3 separate regions of the Homo sapiens genome follow, and all the other regions are linked to region 2. The links are contacts of gene promoters, found by promoter capture Hi-C in blood cells and fetal thymus (Javierre and others, 2016). All regions are on one chromosome and are shown on one strand. Each heading gives the region's core, a stretch centred on a gene start or on the middle of the fragment in contact. The rest is flanking DNA. Distances are from core to core; before and after follow the strand shown. Region 1 holds the start of CDX1 (caudal type homeobox 1). Region 2 overlaps PPARGC1B (PPARG coactivator 1 beta). Region 3 holds the start of SLC6A7 (solute carrier family 6 member 7).

Region 1 (4,337 bases), core at 754-3,253, 340 kb after region 2:
TGGGATCTTCCCTGCTGAGGCAGCCATGTGCTCATCTGTGTCATGTGCTGATCCACACACATGTGGACAGCCATGTGCTCCTGCAAGGTAGCCAAGGGCTCCGCCCGGTCAGCAACAGCCAGGATTTCCCTTCCCCTCTCCTACAAGCAGCCTTCATGTTGCAGCAAACACTGGGCATTACTCCTTTCCTTTCTGAGCCTCAATGCTTCTACCTGTGCAATGGAAAGGGTTCCTCTGAGCAGGAAGCGGAGGGAGCCCTGTGCTGGCTGAGTCTCTGGCTCTATCACATATCAGAGCCCCAGAAGAGCAAGAGTCTCACCAGGGCCAGCTTCCCAGGCGGGTCACCATTGCAGTCACACAGAGCCCAGTGTGTGGAAGGGCCCCGGGCTCAGGTGAATGCTCTGCTGCCACCATCCTGAAATCCTTAATCATTTTTGAACAAGGGACCTTATATTTTTTATTTTGCTCCCGGCCCTGCAAATTATGTCCTGATCCCGAAACATCTGCCCAGCCCTGAGATGATACTGACCAGCCCCCGGCTAATATGGTGACCCAAGAGAGAGACGGGTTGAACAGATAAGACCCTGATTCTGACCTTCTTCTGGGGACCACACATCCCTGCACAATGAGAGGAACCCAGGAAATGTGGGCCCATCCAATCCCACAGGGTGCTTCTGCACAGCTCCCTGGCACAAAGCCCTTGTGCGGAGGGACCCCATCTGACTTCCTGACCCAGAGCCCTGTCCTTCATGCACCCTTCCCCAAATCCCTCAGCCTTGTCCCCACTCCCAGTTCACTGACACCCCCTCAAGTGTTCCCAGCCCCCACTCCCCCTTAGGTAGCTATGAAATGTTTGCCAGTCCTTCATATGGAGTGGAGGAACACGTGATGCATTTAAAATCCCAAGGGGGCTCCAGCCATAATAAATGGATCAGGGCTTTTGGATCCCGATTCACACAAACAGACTGCTAAAAAGACATTTTTGAATCAATTGGAGTACTTTGAATACGAACTGTGTGTTAGGTAATACCCAGGAATTTGTGTTAATTTTGCTAGATGTGATAATGGCATATTATGTAAGAAAATGTCCATGTGTTTTAGAGATGCGTGCTGAAGTATGTAGGGGTAAAATGACATGATGTCTGGAATTTGTTTTAAAATACTTCAGAAAAGCGGGGAGTAGGTGAAATAAGTGTGACAAAACCTTAATAGTTGTTGAAGCGGGGTGATGGGTACACAGCAGTTCATTATACAATTCTACTTTTGTGTATGCTTGAAACCTCTCAATTAAAAAAAGAGGGTAGAGAGTCATCAAGATAATTTACTAAAAGTTTCCTGTAATGTCCCCAGAAGACCCCCCTAACTCACACACACACACACCCACACACACACTGCCTTTTGAGAACTTTCTCTAGAAGGCCAACCCAGGCAGTCCCCCAACTGTAAGGAAGACTCGTGTATGTATGTGCATATGTGCATTTCCCCAGGGAAAAACATCCACAGCTTCCATGACGAGAGGGGTCGTGACCCCTCCCCGCCAAAAGATTAAGGACCTGCGATCCTACAGACCGGAGCCCTGTTTGAAGTCTGCGTTGCCCCTCACCTCAAGCTGGTCACTGTGTGAAGTTGGCCTAGAATCCCCCGGCCCCTGGGAGCTTGTTCCTCCGCCTGTAAAATGGGGCTGCAGGGCCGTCCACGCGGCCACCGGAAGGACAAGGTGTTCAGGCCGCTAGGCCGCTCCCTGGCAAGCGATTCCCACTCGCAGCGCGGCCTCGACCCTCGCCCAAGACGCGCCCTCCGCGCCCCCACCCCCTCCAGGCCCTGGCCAGTCCACCTCCCGCTTGGGGCGGCAATTTGTCTCCTTTTGAACCCCCCGCCCCCGACGGGTTTCCCCCTTTGATTCGCGGCCCGGAGGCTTCCCCCCGCTTTGAAATGCAAACCCGCCTCGGCTGGGGCCGCGGGCGGCCCGGAGCTATAAAAGGCCTGGGTGGGGCGGGCGCGGCGGCAGGACAGCCGAGTTCAGGTGAGCGGTTGCTCGTCGTCGGGGCGGCCGGCAGCGGCGGCTCCAGGGCCCAGCATGCGCGGGGGACCCCGCGGCCACCATGTATGTGGGCTATGTGCTGGACAAGGATTCGCCCGTGTACCCCGGCCCAGCCAGGCCAGCCAGCCTCGGCCTGGGCCCGCAAGCCTACGGCCCCCCGGCCCCGCCCCCGGCGCCCCCGCAGTACCCCGACTTCTCCAGCTACTCTCACGTGGAGCCGGCCCCCGCGCCCCCGACGGCCTGGGGGGCGCCCTTCCCTGCGCCCAAGGACGACTGGGCCGCCGCCTACGGCCCGGGCCCCGCGGCCCCTGCCGCCAGCCCAGCTTCGCTGGCATTCGGGCCCCCTCCAGACTTTAGCCCGGTGCCGGCGCCCCCTGGGCCCGGCCCGGGCCTCCTGGCGCAGCCCCTCGGGGGCCCGGGCACACCGTCCTCGCCCGGAGCGCAGAGGCCGACGCCCTACGAGTGGATGCGGCGCAGCGTGGCGGCCGGAGGCGGCGGTGGCAGCGGTAAGGACCCTTCCCTCGCCCTGCGCCTCTGGACCTGCAGGTGCTCGGGCGCGGCCCAGGCCGCCCCCTGTCTGACCTCTGCTCCGGCCCTGCTCGGGTTCCCGGGAGTGTGGCCCTCCTGTCCACTCTCGCCCTGGGGGGCTGCTCTTTGGCTCCCTCTCCTCAGTCTCAGGCTATCGGAGCCTTCAGCAGCACAGCCTAACCCTCTCTCTGTACAGATAGGGAAACCGAGACCCCCTGCGAAGTGCGGAAATGCGCCTGCGGCCGCGGAGCAAGACCCGAACTAGAACGCAGGCTCCCAGACTCGTGTCCCACACTCATTTAGCAACACCGACTCCGTGCTCTTCATCTGCTTCTTCCACTCCTAACCCAGCCCTAGGCAAAGGCGGCAGGTTCGCCCCAGAAGGGACGATTAACTAACTGTGTGAACAGGGCAGGTGACTTTCCTGGCCAGGGCTGGGTCTCCCCATCACACAGTCAAGACATTGCTGGGTCATATCCTTCAGGCTGAAAAAGAGCCCTCTTTGGCCAGACTGGGGCAAGGGGTCTGTACCTTACCTTCTCAGGGTCCTCCCTGAACTCTTGACCCCGGGGGAGGGGAAGCGGGAGCAGTGGGAAGGGGGGCTACTGTTTGGCTCCTGAGCCTGTGAACCTCCTGCCCCCAGGCAGGCCTCTCTGATCCGCCCTCTTCAAAGGCAGGGTAGGGGGCAGGACAAAGGGCCCAACTTTAATGAGGGGCGGCTTGACCTCCGTTATGGGTCCCCCCTTTGTCATGCAACTGGCTCTGCCTTGGCTCGGTAGTGACTCCTGTTGGCCGGAAAGTGAACACGACGTTCCATTGTCCGGACTGTGTCCGGCCTGTCCTGACAAAGGCCACCTAGCCTTGGGGGCGGGAAGCTGGCCTGCCCACCCTTTGATGTCCAGCCCCTCCTCCCCTTACCCCAGCTGCGAATAATCCTGGGACTTCTCCCACCTCCTCGCACTCTTCACCCCCATCTCCCCACACACACCCAGCTTGCCTCGGGGCAGATGCTGGGTTGGCCTTGATCAGGAGCTACGGGTTCTGGCCATAATCATATCCCCTTTTTGGAAGTCCCGGGGATACATAACCTCCTATCTGCCTCCAGGGAGATGCAGGGAACCAGACTCTGCCACTTGCTTCTGTGGCCTTGATTAAATAACAGCTAATGTTTTGGAACACTTAACTAACGGACCAGGCATGACCTAAGTAAGATCTTGCATGCATTAACTCCTTTAACTCTTAAAACATCATCGTAGGTACTATTATCACCCCCATTTTAAGATGAAGAAACTATGGCATAGAGAGTTTAAGTACTTGCCCAAGGCCATATAACCTGTAACTAGTGGGGCTGGGATTTGAACCCAGGTGGACTAACCACTAAGTCTGTGCTCTAATTCTCTACACAACAGCTCCTCTTAAATCAGTCATCTTTTCTGGGTTTCAGTTCTACTGTCTGTGAAATTAGAGAGAAGGGAGATTATGCAGTGGTTTGTACCCTTGTTTAAGTTACAAAAGGACTCCTTTGAAAAATCTGCTGAAAGGTACAAATGTTGCATCATTGGGCAATTTCAGGGGTTCTGGAGGCTACCAGAAGCTTTATCCATAAATCCGGGGTTAAGAACCCTGTGTTCTATGAGAGGAGGTGGTGGCAGCACCAGTGCTCAGGATCCTGCAGTTCCCAGTCTGTGAGGCTCTGGAGAAGGAAGCCTGTGTTTCCTGCTCCTGTGTTCCACTTTCTGCTTCCTGCTCATGGGGTGACTTTGGAGAT
Region 2 (4,922 bases), core at 1,356-3,855:
AGTCAATAACACATTTATTGGGCATCTGCTATGCCAGGAATACTGAGCAGCTCTGCTGGGTGGGCAGAGGGGAGGGTATGGCAGGAGGGTGTTGGTGGGCCAGCTGGCTGGGCAGAGCTGGTGTCCACCGTGGAGACTGAGTCTAAGGTGGTGACTAACCATCTCCCCATCTGCCTTTCTGACCCTCCCGCCCTCCTCACTCCAGATTGACAGTGAGAATGAGGCCCTCCTGGCAGAGCTCACCAAGACCCTGGATGACATCCCTGAAGATGACGTGGGTCTGGCTGCCTTCCCAGCCCTGGATGGTGGAGACGCTCTATCATGCACCTCAGCTTCGCCTGCCCCCTCATCTGCACCCCCCAGCCCTGCCCCGGAGAAGCCCTCGGCCCCAGCCCCTGAGGTGGACGAGCTCTCACTGGTAAGAACCTACTTACAGCAGAAGTGATGGTTGCAGCCTGGGATTAGGTTTCTGGTTCAGGGCATGGGGTGCAGAGCAATCCGCTCCAGCCCCGCAGGGGACTCCGTGCATCACTGGCAATATTGATCACAGCAGAGAGCGTGGGCCGAAGGTGGGAGGCCCCCCTGGACTTAACCTTTCCCACCTAGACAGAGGTACTAACGACAGAGGCTTCACCTGCATTCTCTATGCTCTTTGGTACTTTAGGGATTGACCAAGTTACGTGTTAAATCCTTGAAATTACATGCAAAACATTTTCCTGAAGATTGCACACACATGGTAAAAATCCAGGTAGTAAAAGTGGACAGTTAAAAGCAAAACCTCCTTAGCCCTCTCTCTGTTGCTTTTTCCTGTCCCAGAGGTAACCATGGTTACTGATCTGTTATGTGACTTTCCTCTTCTACCTTTTAAAAGATTTTACTACAAAAGGGAGTCTACATTAGGGCTCTGCACGTTGCTTTCACGGTTAACTGTGTGTCTTGGAAGCTCTTCCACATGAGCACGTAGAGCTCTGTTTCATTCTTTGTGTTGGCTGTGTAATGTTCCTTGGTAGGGTTTCACTGGTTCCCCTGTTGGGTATTTGTGTTGTTTCAACTCCTTCCTCATTACAAGCAGTGGCACAGTAACTGTTCTTATACAGGCCTTTGTGACATGTAAATGGACAAATTCTTAAAAATGAAATTCCTGGGTCTGTGGATCTGTGATTTTCCAGTTTAAGCAGATACTTGCAGATTGCCCTCCAAAGATGTTGGACTGGTTTACACTTCCACCAGCAGAAGTTAAATGCGGTGTGAGCGTGTGCGGAATGTGGAAATGTGCACATGGAATAGCAGCTTTCTAGGGAGAACATCAGATTTTATCAGATTTTCAAAGGAGTCTGGAACTCAGAAGTTACTGGAAGCAGTCGCTCTCAATCCGGGCTGAGAGCACCCATAGCTGAGCTGTCCTGGAGTGTGAAGTCTAGCTTTGCTCAGCCTGTCTTGGGCCCCTCCCTTGGTGCTGTGGCTCCTGGAGGCTGGCAGGACTCAGCTAGAAAATCAGAGCCTGTTGGAGCCGGGAGGGTTCTTAGGTTATGGAGAGTTTGAGCTGGAAAGGCCCTTGGTGACCCTCAAGCCCAGCTCTGGAAAAACTGTGGCCCAGAGTGGGGAGGGTATCTCCAGTAGTCACACAGCAAGTCAGTGTGCCAGCAAAGACTAGAACTCAGGTATTCACTCCTAGTCTAGGACCCTTTCCCTTCCTTCCCACTGCCTTCAAGTTCCCCAAAGCAGCGTGAAGCACCCACCATGCCAGGCACAGAATATGTTCAGTCCCACATTATGGCTCCTGCCGAGAGGGGGTCCTGCTTCATTTCAGACTGGAATCGAAGCACCTAGGTTTGAATCCCAGCCCTGCCATTTAGTACTTGTATGTCCCTTAGGCATACATCCTGAACCTCTCTAAGCCTCGGCTTCCTGATCTATAAAGAGGGGTTAATAATAGTGCCTATGTCAAAGGCTATTAGGAGGATTACAGCAGATAATACACATAAAGCACTTAGAACAGTGCCTGGCACATAGAGTTGCTCAGTAAATGTGAACTAATACTTCTGGTACAACCATTAGTGGTAACAAGCATTCTAGTGCCATTTCTTCACGGGGCCTTTGGAGAAGAACCAAAGCTTAAAGAGGCAAAGCGCGACCCCTGCTGGTCAAAGGTTGTTTCCCTCCCATGCCTTAGATTACCTTCATTCCCTACATGCTTATTGAGTGCCTCTGTTTCAGCCATTGTGCAAGGCACACAGGAAACAGACTTGCTGTCTAGACTCCCTGCATACCGACAGAGATCTGGAAGGGCCCTGAGGGACCGGGCACAGTGGCTTATACCTGTAATCCCAACACTTTGGGAGGCTGAGTGGGAGGATCCCTTGAAGCCAGGAGTTTGAGACCAGCCTGGGCAACATAGGAAGATCCATCTCTATGATTTTTTTTTTTTTTTAAATTAGCCCGGTATGGTGGCACGTGCCTGTAGTCCCAGCTACTCTGGAGGCTGGGGTAGGAGGATTTTCTAAAGCCAGGAGTGTGAGGCCTCAGTGAGCTAGGATCATGATACTGCATTCAAGCCTGGGTGACAGAGCAAGACCCCATCTCTTTAAAAGACAAAAAGCAAACAAACAAAAAGGCCCTGAGAAGTCATCTGGACCTCAGGTTGGGCCATGGATCCCAGAGAGTCCAGCGATGGACTTGTAAGGACCTGTGGACCTCTGTGTGTCTGTGTGATTTTCTGAGGTCAGCAACTTCTGTCATATTCTTAGAGTCAAAAAAAGAGGTTTTAATCCAGCCATGTAGTCTCTCTGCCCCTGCTCATTACACCAATGGAGGAATCAAGGCTCTCACAGTGCACCGGGCCTGAGCCAGGCTAGAATGAGGTCTCTTTCCCCCAGTCCTAGGATCATTTCCCATCGAAAAAGTCACAAACATGTGGGTGCTGGTTTGGGGTTTAGGTGGGGTAGCCAGGATCCTGTGGCTCCTCAAGAGTGTGGAGTGGCCTTTTCTCTGGCTCCTGGCCTTTGGCATTCCTTGTTGGAGTGACTTGGGGTGGCATGTTCCCCAGGGAAACTCTCCGTGCTGTACTAAAATCTCATGATCTTTCTCAGTTTGTTATCAAGCTTGGCTAGGATCTCCGGCGGAAAATCTAGATGTATTCAACTTCCTGCTCTCTCAGCTCAGGTACACTCTGTACCTGCCCTCAGGGTGCAGAAGCAGAAGAGCTTTTACAGTTTTTATAGAAAAAAAAAAAAAAGCCAAACAAGCTTAAGTGTAGTCTTCCACTTGTGTAAAAACAACAGGGTAGGGCCAGGCACAGTGGCTTACGCCTATAATCTCAGCACTTTGGGAGGCCGAGGCGGGCAGATCGCTTAAGGTCAGGAGTTTGAGACCAGCCTGGCCAACATGGTAAAACCCCATCTCTACGAAAATACAAAAATTAGCTGGGTGTGGTGGCAGACGCCTGTAATCCCAGCTACTTGGGAGGCTGAGGCAGGAGAATCGCTTGAACCCGTGAGGTGGAGGTTGCAGTGAGCCGAGATCCTGCCACTGCACTCCAGCCTAGGTGACAGAGACTGCATCTCAAAAAAAAAAAAAAAAAAAAAAAAGAAAAAAAAAAAAAAACAGGGTGGGTTGGAGGTAATGACTACATACATATACTTGCATAATGAAAGCCCACCTCATGATAGGTTCACCGAAAAGTAGTTAGTGGAGTTGCCTCTAGGAGGCAGAAGGGGACTTTGAGCAAGAGAGAGACTTGCTTTTAATTGTCTGCCCTTTAGTATTTGTGATGTGTCTTCTTTTTTTTTTTTAATCATTTACAAGTATTACCTTGCTTAATTTAAGAAATTAATTTTTAGAGGTAATATGAATAAACAGAAAGAACAAAGGGGAAATCAGCTAGAATCCCATACCAGAGAATCATTTTGGTACCTAACCTTCCAGATTGTGTGTATGTGTGTGTGTGTGTGCACTCAGAATGTCCCAATAAAACTGTATCATAATATTTTAACAGTAGAATAGACAGACGTTACCCAAGACCTGCTTGAGTTTTTCTAAGTCATAGCTATTCCCTGGGGTTATTAACTCTGAAAAGGATTTGTATGTTATTAGCATACTTACGTGTGTTCGGGATTGTTAGACAATCTACCATCTGCACCTAGTATCTTGGGATCATCATCCCAGGTCATGGAATGCCCACCCTGTGTTCTCCCTGTGGTCCTGTGATGCCCAAGGTCAGTCCTGAGGGGCTGGCCATGCAGTCCATGTCCTCTGGCTGTGGCTCAGCCCCGGCTCCTGTCCTCTCTGCTTTTCCCTCAGCTGCAGAAGCTCCTCCTGGCCACATCCTACCCAACATCAAGCTCTGACACCCAGAAGGAAGGGACCGCCTGGCGCCAGGCAGGCCTCAGATCTAAAAGTCAACGGCCTTGTGTTAAGGTATTTCTTCACATGCCCCCAAATCTACCCCAGGTGTCTGTTGGGGCTGCAGCCTTCAGCTCTGGTGGAGGATAGCGAGTTCAGTCAACCTCCAATATCTCTTCCCACTCCTCCCACAGCCCTTGTAGCTGGTGTCCTGGGCACTGCTTCTGGAGATCCAGCCTAGTTTAGGGTTTTCTGGAAGGAGCCCTGGACTTTCTCACACTTTAGTGTTCCAGACACTGGTAGATGTTAATGCAGCTTAGAGCAAGGATGAGGAAAGTGTGGCCAGGCTTCAGAGGACTGTATTCCAACAGTGTGACAGACCAAAATGCAAGATTGCGCTGGTTGTGGAGGCCACAGTAAATAGTTTGGATTTTTTTTCCCCCCTCAGGGAGCCCATTGGAGGGTTTAAAGCTCTGCCATAGACATCCAGGGTCAAAGAACATCCCTTTTCCTCCTTGAGCCCCATCTTCCAAGCCTAACAAGAAGAGGCGTAACAGGTGTTTTTCAAAGGGTCCTGTCCT
Region 3 (4,804 bases), core at 963-3,462, 360 kb after region 2:
GGAGGCTGAGGTGGGAGGGTAGCTTGAGTTCAGGAAGCGAAGGTTGTGGTGAGCCGAGATGGAGCCACTGCACATCAACCTGGGTAATAGAGCAAGATCTCTCTCAAAAAAATAAAGAAAAGAAAATCTTTGAGTTTTGTTTGTTTTATGAAAGGGCAGACTTTCCCCACCAGGGCTGTGGGGATGGAGGTGATGGTGGCAGAGAGGTATGAGCTAGAGGGCAGAGCCTGGGTGAGGTCAGACTCCTAGGTTATAGACATGATCCTGTCTTTACTGAATCACTGAGTGATTTTGCAAATCCTGCCCCTCTGGGTCTCAGTTTCCCTATCTGAAAGGCATGGGCCTAGATCCATTTGCACCTCACAGTCCCAGTGACTGCCACAGTGGCTCAGTGGTCACCCCCTGATGTGTCTGCTCAAGGGAAGCTAAAGCCCTGGTCCACTCCCTTCTTCTCCCCCAGGGCTGGGTCCGTGAAGTGGGAGGAGCAGGTGCTGCTAGGAAGGGTCATAAAGAGGCCAGTCTTCTTGGCTCCTGAGCCAACTGCCTCATCCCTGCTCGCTGTCCCTGTGGCCCTCTGTGCCTTCCAAAGGGTCTCATGAAACCCAAGTGCCAATGGGAGGGAGTGGTTGAGCAAGGTTGAGCCTCTTTTGTACAAGATGCATTGACAAGCCTTGGGTGAGGGATGGGGAAGTTTCCTGCCTGGGCCTCCTTGGATTCAGGAGCCCTTGGCTTCTGCCTTTCCCAGCCATGACCCACAGCTTTCCTGGCTTCATCCCCAACGCCCAGTGCATGACTTCACTCCTCTGGGACAGTTTCCACAGGTGTAAAATGAGATGCACAAACATGTCTTCCCAGACAGTTGGAAAGAATTAAAAATTAGATGTTGGATGCAAAAATCCTTCATAATGCACACAGTAGGGCTCCATAAATGCTCCTTCTCTTCACACTCACAGCCACTCTTGGCCCCATATGGGTCAGCAGGCAGGGGGCAGAGGAGACACCTTCCTCCTGGGTCTGGAGAGCCCCTGGTTTGCCCTTTGTGGCCAGGCTCAAAGGGGAGAGAAGTTTGACAGGACCTGGGCAGGGGAAGGGGTGGACTGGAGCCTGGCCAGGCCTTTACCCAAGTCCATGCTTTGACTTAAACCCCTCCAACCTTTTTTCAAGCTCCAGAGGTGGGAGAGAGCAGAACCTTATTCTCATCTCTCCCCAAAGGCCTCCCACCGTGTCAACTGATAGTGAGCCAAACAGATGTATGGTTAATGTCTAAACTGGGACACTTGCGAGGGTGAAAAGGACACAATTTGTAATGTATATACTGATCCGCTAGTGTCTATCAGTCAGTCCCAGCAAACCAACGTGTGCCATTGCTCCAGCTCATCATTTCCCATCCTAGCCACAGGCTCACTGGACCCTCAGAACATTCTGAGGCAACAATGCATGGGCGGCTCGTGGCCCATTTTACAGATATGAAATTAGAACTTTCCAGAAGCCATACTGCTGCTGGACAGGAAACCAGTTACTAATCATCTAAGTCACAGATCACAGTGACACTGTGGCACTTGCCTGTCCCTTCTGCTCACCCAAACCTCCCCATTTTGCTTTCATCTTAAGGAAAGGAGGAGAGTTGAAGACTCTACTAGCCTAAAGGTCCATGAAGCCTGACTCTGTCCCTGGTGTCACTCATTAGCCCCGTGACTTTGAGTAAGTAACTTAACTTCCCTGTCCCTCAGCTTCCTCATCTGTAGAATAGGAGTAACGACACCTGTCTCTCCAGGTTGAGAAAATAGGACACCTAGTTCAGGACCTGGCACATTTTAGGTGCTCAATAAATACTGATAGATTGAATAATTGGACTAATGGTGGCGTGGGCAACCCACAGTCAGTGAATAAATGTTAACTGAGCACCTACTATGTGTCAGGCTCTTTGTGCTAGATGTTTTCTATGCTCCATCTTCCTGAATTGCTCACACTCCTGTAAGAGAGGAGAGATTCTTATCCCCTAAGGTCGCACAGCAAAGACGACGCAGGGGGGTGGGCTGTTAGTGTTCCTTGCCCAACTGTGGAAAGGGAGTCCCAGAGAGGGCAGGTCGCTTGCCCAAGGTCACGCAGAAAGCCGAGGGTTTCCGTCGCGAACCCCCCTCCCCACTCGCTCAGGGCTCTCCAATCCGCAGCTCTGCGTGCGGGGGCGCGCGCATCCCCCCGCCGTCCGTCCGTCAGCTGTCTGTCTGGGTGTCTATGCGGGCGCAGCAGTGCACCCTTCCCCAGCCTCGGGCGCTGCGCAGGGACAGACAAGGCATTCGCAGCGCCCTGCCCGCGCTCCACGCCCGCAGCCGCCAGACGGCAGCGCCTGCGTCCGTGCCCGCCCCAGCCGGTGCGCGGGAGCCGCGGGGGCAAAGGCGCAGTGGCCAGCGGACCATCTCTCGTGCCCTCGCTCTCTGCGCTCCGGGGCAGCTGAGCCCCGGCCACCCGCTCTCCAAGATGAAGAAGCTCCAGGGAGCTCACCTCCGCAAGGTAGGGCACGAGGGCGGGGGCGCTGGGGGTGCACCTGGAGGAGGGTTGGAGAGACCCGCCCCCAACGAGGCCCCTGGGGAAGGTCTGAGGATGCACCCAGACCAGCTTCGGGCTCTGGGGAAGGCCCGACTCAGCTGGATAACAGGGAGGGTCAGGGTCACGGTCTGCGCCCCCACCTCTGCCCCTGCCATCTGGGGTTCGGGATGTAGTATGAGGGGAGTCCTGGTTCACTGGGCCAGGCCTATGAACAGGTGTCTGCAGTCCCCGGAGGCGCGGGGTAGGGGCGGCCGGGGCCAGGCACCCACCTCTTCCCCAATTCCACCCTGCTGCTCCCCGCCAGGAGCTGATTGCCGGGTGTGGGGGGTATTGGAATACCTGAGCGTTGAGCTGGACTCATCTGAGGGGTGGGGAGTGGGAGGCGGTCATCCATACTGAAGCCGGCTCCCTGAGCCTGCGGGAAGACTCTCCTCTTTCCTGCCTGCTCCCTCCCCGCCCCCTTAGCTTGCCTGCTGAGACCCCAGGCTGCCCCTCAGCAGGGCTGAAGGGAGGCAAAGACAGGGAGGGGGCTATCGGAGGCAGGAGGATATGATCAATGAAGATGGAAGCTGGTATGGGAGAGTGGCTGTGGGCCCAGACCTCAGGCTCTCCCTACCTTGCCTTGTGGGATTGGACCTCTCAGCCAAGCTGTCAGGATATGGGGAGGGGGAATACTGGGGGACGTTTTCTGGCTTGTACCAGTCCTAACTAAGGAGTCAGATCTCCTGAATACTATTTCTGCCGCTGCCACTTGCCTGGTGACTTTGGACAAGTTCATTCTCTAACCTGAACCTCCTCTGGCTAAGCCCTAGCCTGGAGGCACCAAAACAGGCCCCACTGGGTGTGTGAGGTGTGGGGAAGAATGCTAAAGGGCTGGTAGATGTGAGAAGACTGTTCTCAGGGGCTGGTGTTATCAACCTCCCTACATACACACACATTCACACTCACACTCACTCACACACACACTCATTCATTCAAGTTCTCTGCTCTGGGGCAGCTGGGCTTGGAACCACTGTGGTGTGTCTTTTTTCTTTTTCTTGTTTTTTTTTTTTGAGACGGAGTCTCGCTCTGTCACCCAGGTTGGAGTGCAGTGGTGTGATCTCGGCTCACTGCAAGCTCTGCCTCCCGGGTTCACGCCATTCTCCTGCCTCAGCCTCCCGAGTAGCTGGGACTATAGGCGCCCGCCACCACGCCTGGCTAATGTTTTGTATTTTTAGTAGAGACGGGGTTTCACCGTGTTAGCCAGGATGGTCTTGATCTTCTGACCTCGTGATCCGCCCGCCTCGGCCTCCCAAAGTGCTGGGATTACAGGTGTGAGTCACTGCGCCCAGCTGGTATGTCTTTTTTATTCACTGACATGAGTGACTTCTTGAGACCATTTGTGAGTCTCTTGGGTCCTGTTTCCATTCTTTTCCACTCTCCTTCTCTTCCCTCTCTGCCCTCCCTCCCCACAAGAGGCCCTGTCCCTCTTGCTGGGTGCTGGGCTGGGGGGTTAGCAAGCTTTATCTCATTTAATCCTTTAACACTTCCAGGGGCTAGGTCTTAGTAGCCCCACTTTATAAATAAGGCAACTGAGGCACAGAGGGGTGAGACTCACTGCTTACCTGCTGGCAGGCTAGGCAACCTAGAGCCAACAGGGCAGAGGGTTGGTTCTAGGTTGCTACCTCCTCTCAGGGTCCTTTCCCTTTTCTCAAGCAGAATTGGGCGGGAATGAGAAAATGCCAGATTTCCGCAAAGGAGCAGCATTGCTCAGAGATGAACACTGGACTTAGAGTCAGGGGATCTAGGTCCAAGTCTTGCTGTGCCTTTAACTTGCTGTTTGACCTTGGGCTCATCCCTTCTTCCTGAAACTTGGTTTCCTAATCTGCACAATGATGAAGCTGGACCCCAGATTCCTATTGTCTCTCTCTGTCCTGAAGAGTCTTGGCTTGGGCAGTCTTGAGTCTCCCAGCCCCTGCTGTGAGTCCCTAAAGGCGAGCATGCAGGTCTGACAAACTCAGCTGTGTGTTCCTGCATGCCCCTGGGGTAGGGAGTGGGAGATTCAGGAGTGGGAGGCTTACACCCAGGAAGAAGTATGAAGCAACTCATTCAGCTTCCAGCCCTGCCCCAGCTATTTGATTGCTTTCTTCCATCTCCCAACCAGCCCCATCCTCACTGTGCCAGCCTCCTGGGATTCACCCCATGGTGGGGTTGGGAACTCCAGTTGGGCTCCTGATTGGCTCAGCTTTGGAGGACCCTATCTCCTGCCCCTGGAGCA

Evidence for each region. Contacts are between HindIII fragments. The CHiCAGO score rates a contact against its expected background, and 5 or more counts as called.
Region 1: the fragment with the promoter of CDX1 here is called in contact with a fragment that was not itself captured in region 2 in 1 of 17 cell types (endothelial precursors); the score reaches 6.4 in endothelial precursors.
Region 3: a contact is called between the fragment with the promoter of SLC6A7 here and a fragment that was not itself captured in region 2, in 1 of 17 cell types (endothelial precursors). The highest score is 6.7, in endothelial precursors.

The regions. Positions count from the first base shown.
Region 1 is chr5:150,164,775-150,169,111 of GRCh38, forward strand. CDX1 (caudal type homeobox 1) reads left to right here and starts at 2,004. Exons shown (of 3, transcript NM_001804.3): 1 at 2,004-2,547. The coding sequence starts at 2,103. The HindIII fragment of the contact is 7,821 bases long and covers 1-4,161 here.
Region 2 is chr5:149,826,468-149,831,389 of GRCh38, forward strand. PPARGC1B (PPARG coactivator 1 beta) reads left to right here. Exons shown (of 12, transcript NM_133263.4): 3 at 206-418; 4 at 4,300-4,416. Among named protein-coding and RNA genes, the nearest start is that of MIR378A, 96 kb to the left of the region's middle. The HindIII fragment of the contact is 987 bases long and covers 2,113-3,099 here.
Region 3 is chr5:150,187,850-150,192,653 of GRCh38, forward strand. It overlaps SLC6A7 (solute carrier family 6 member 7), which reads left to right and starts at 2,213. Exons shown (of 14, transcript NM_014228.5): 1 at 2,213-2,511. The coding sequence starts at 2,479. The HindIII fragment of the contact is 12,060 bases long and covers 1-4,045 here.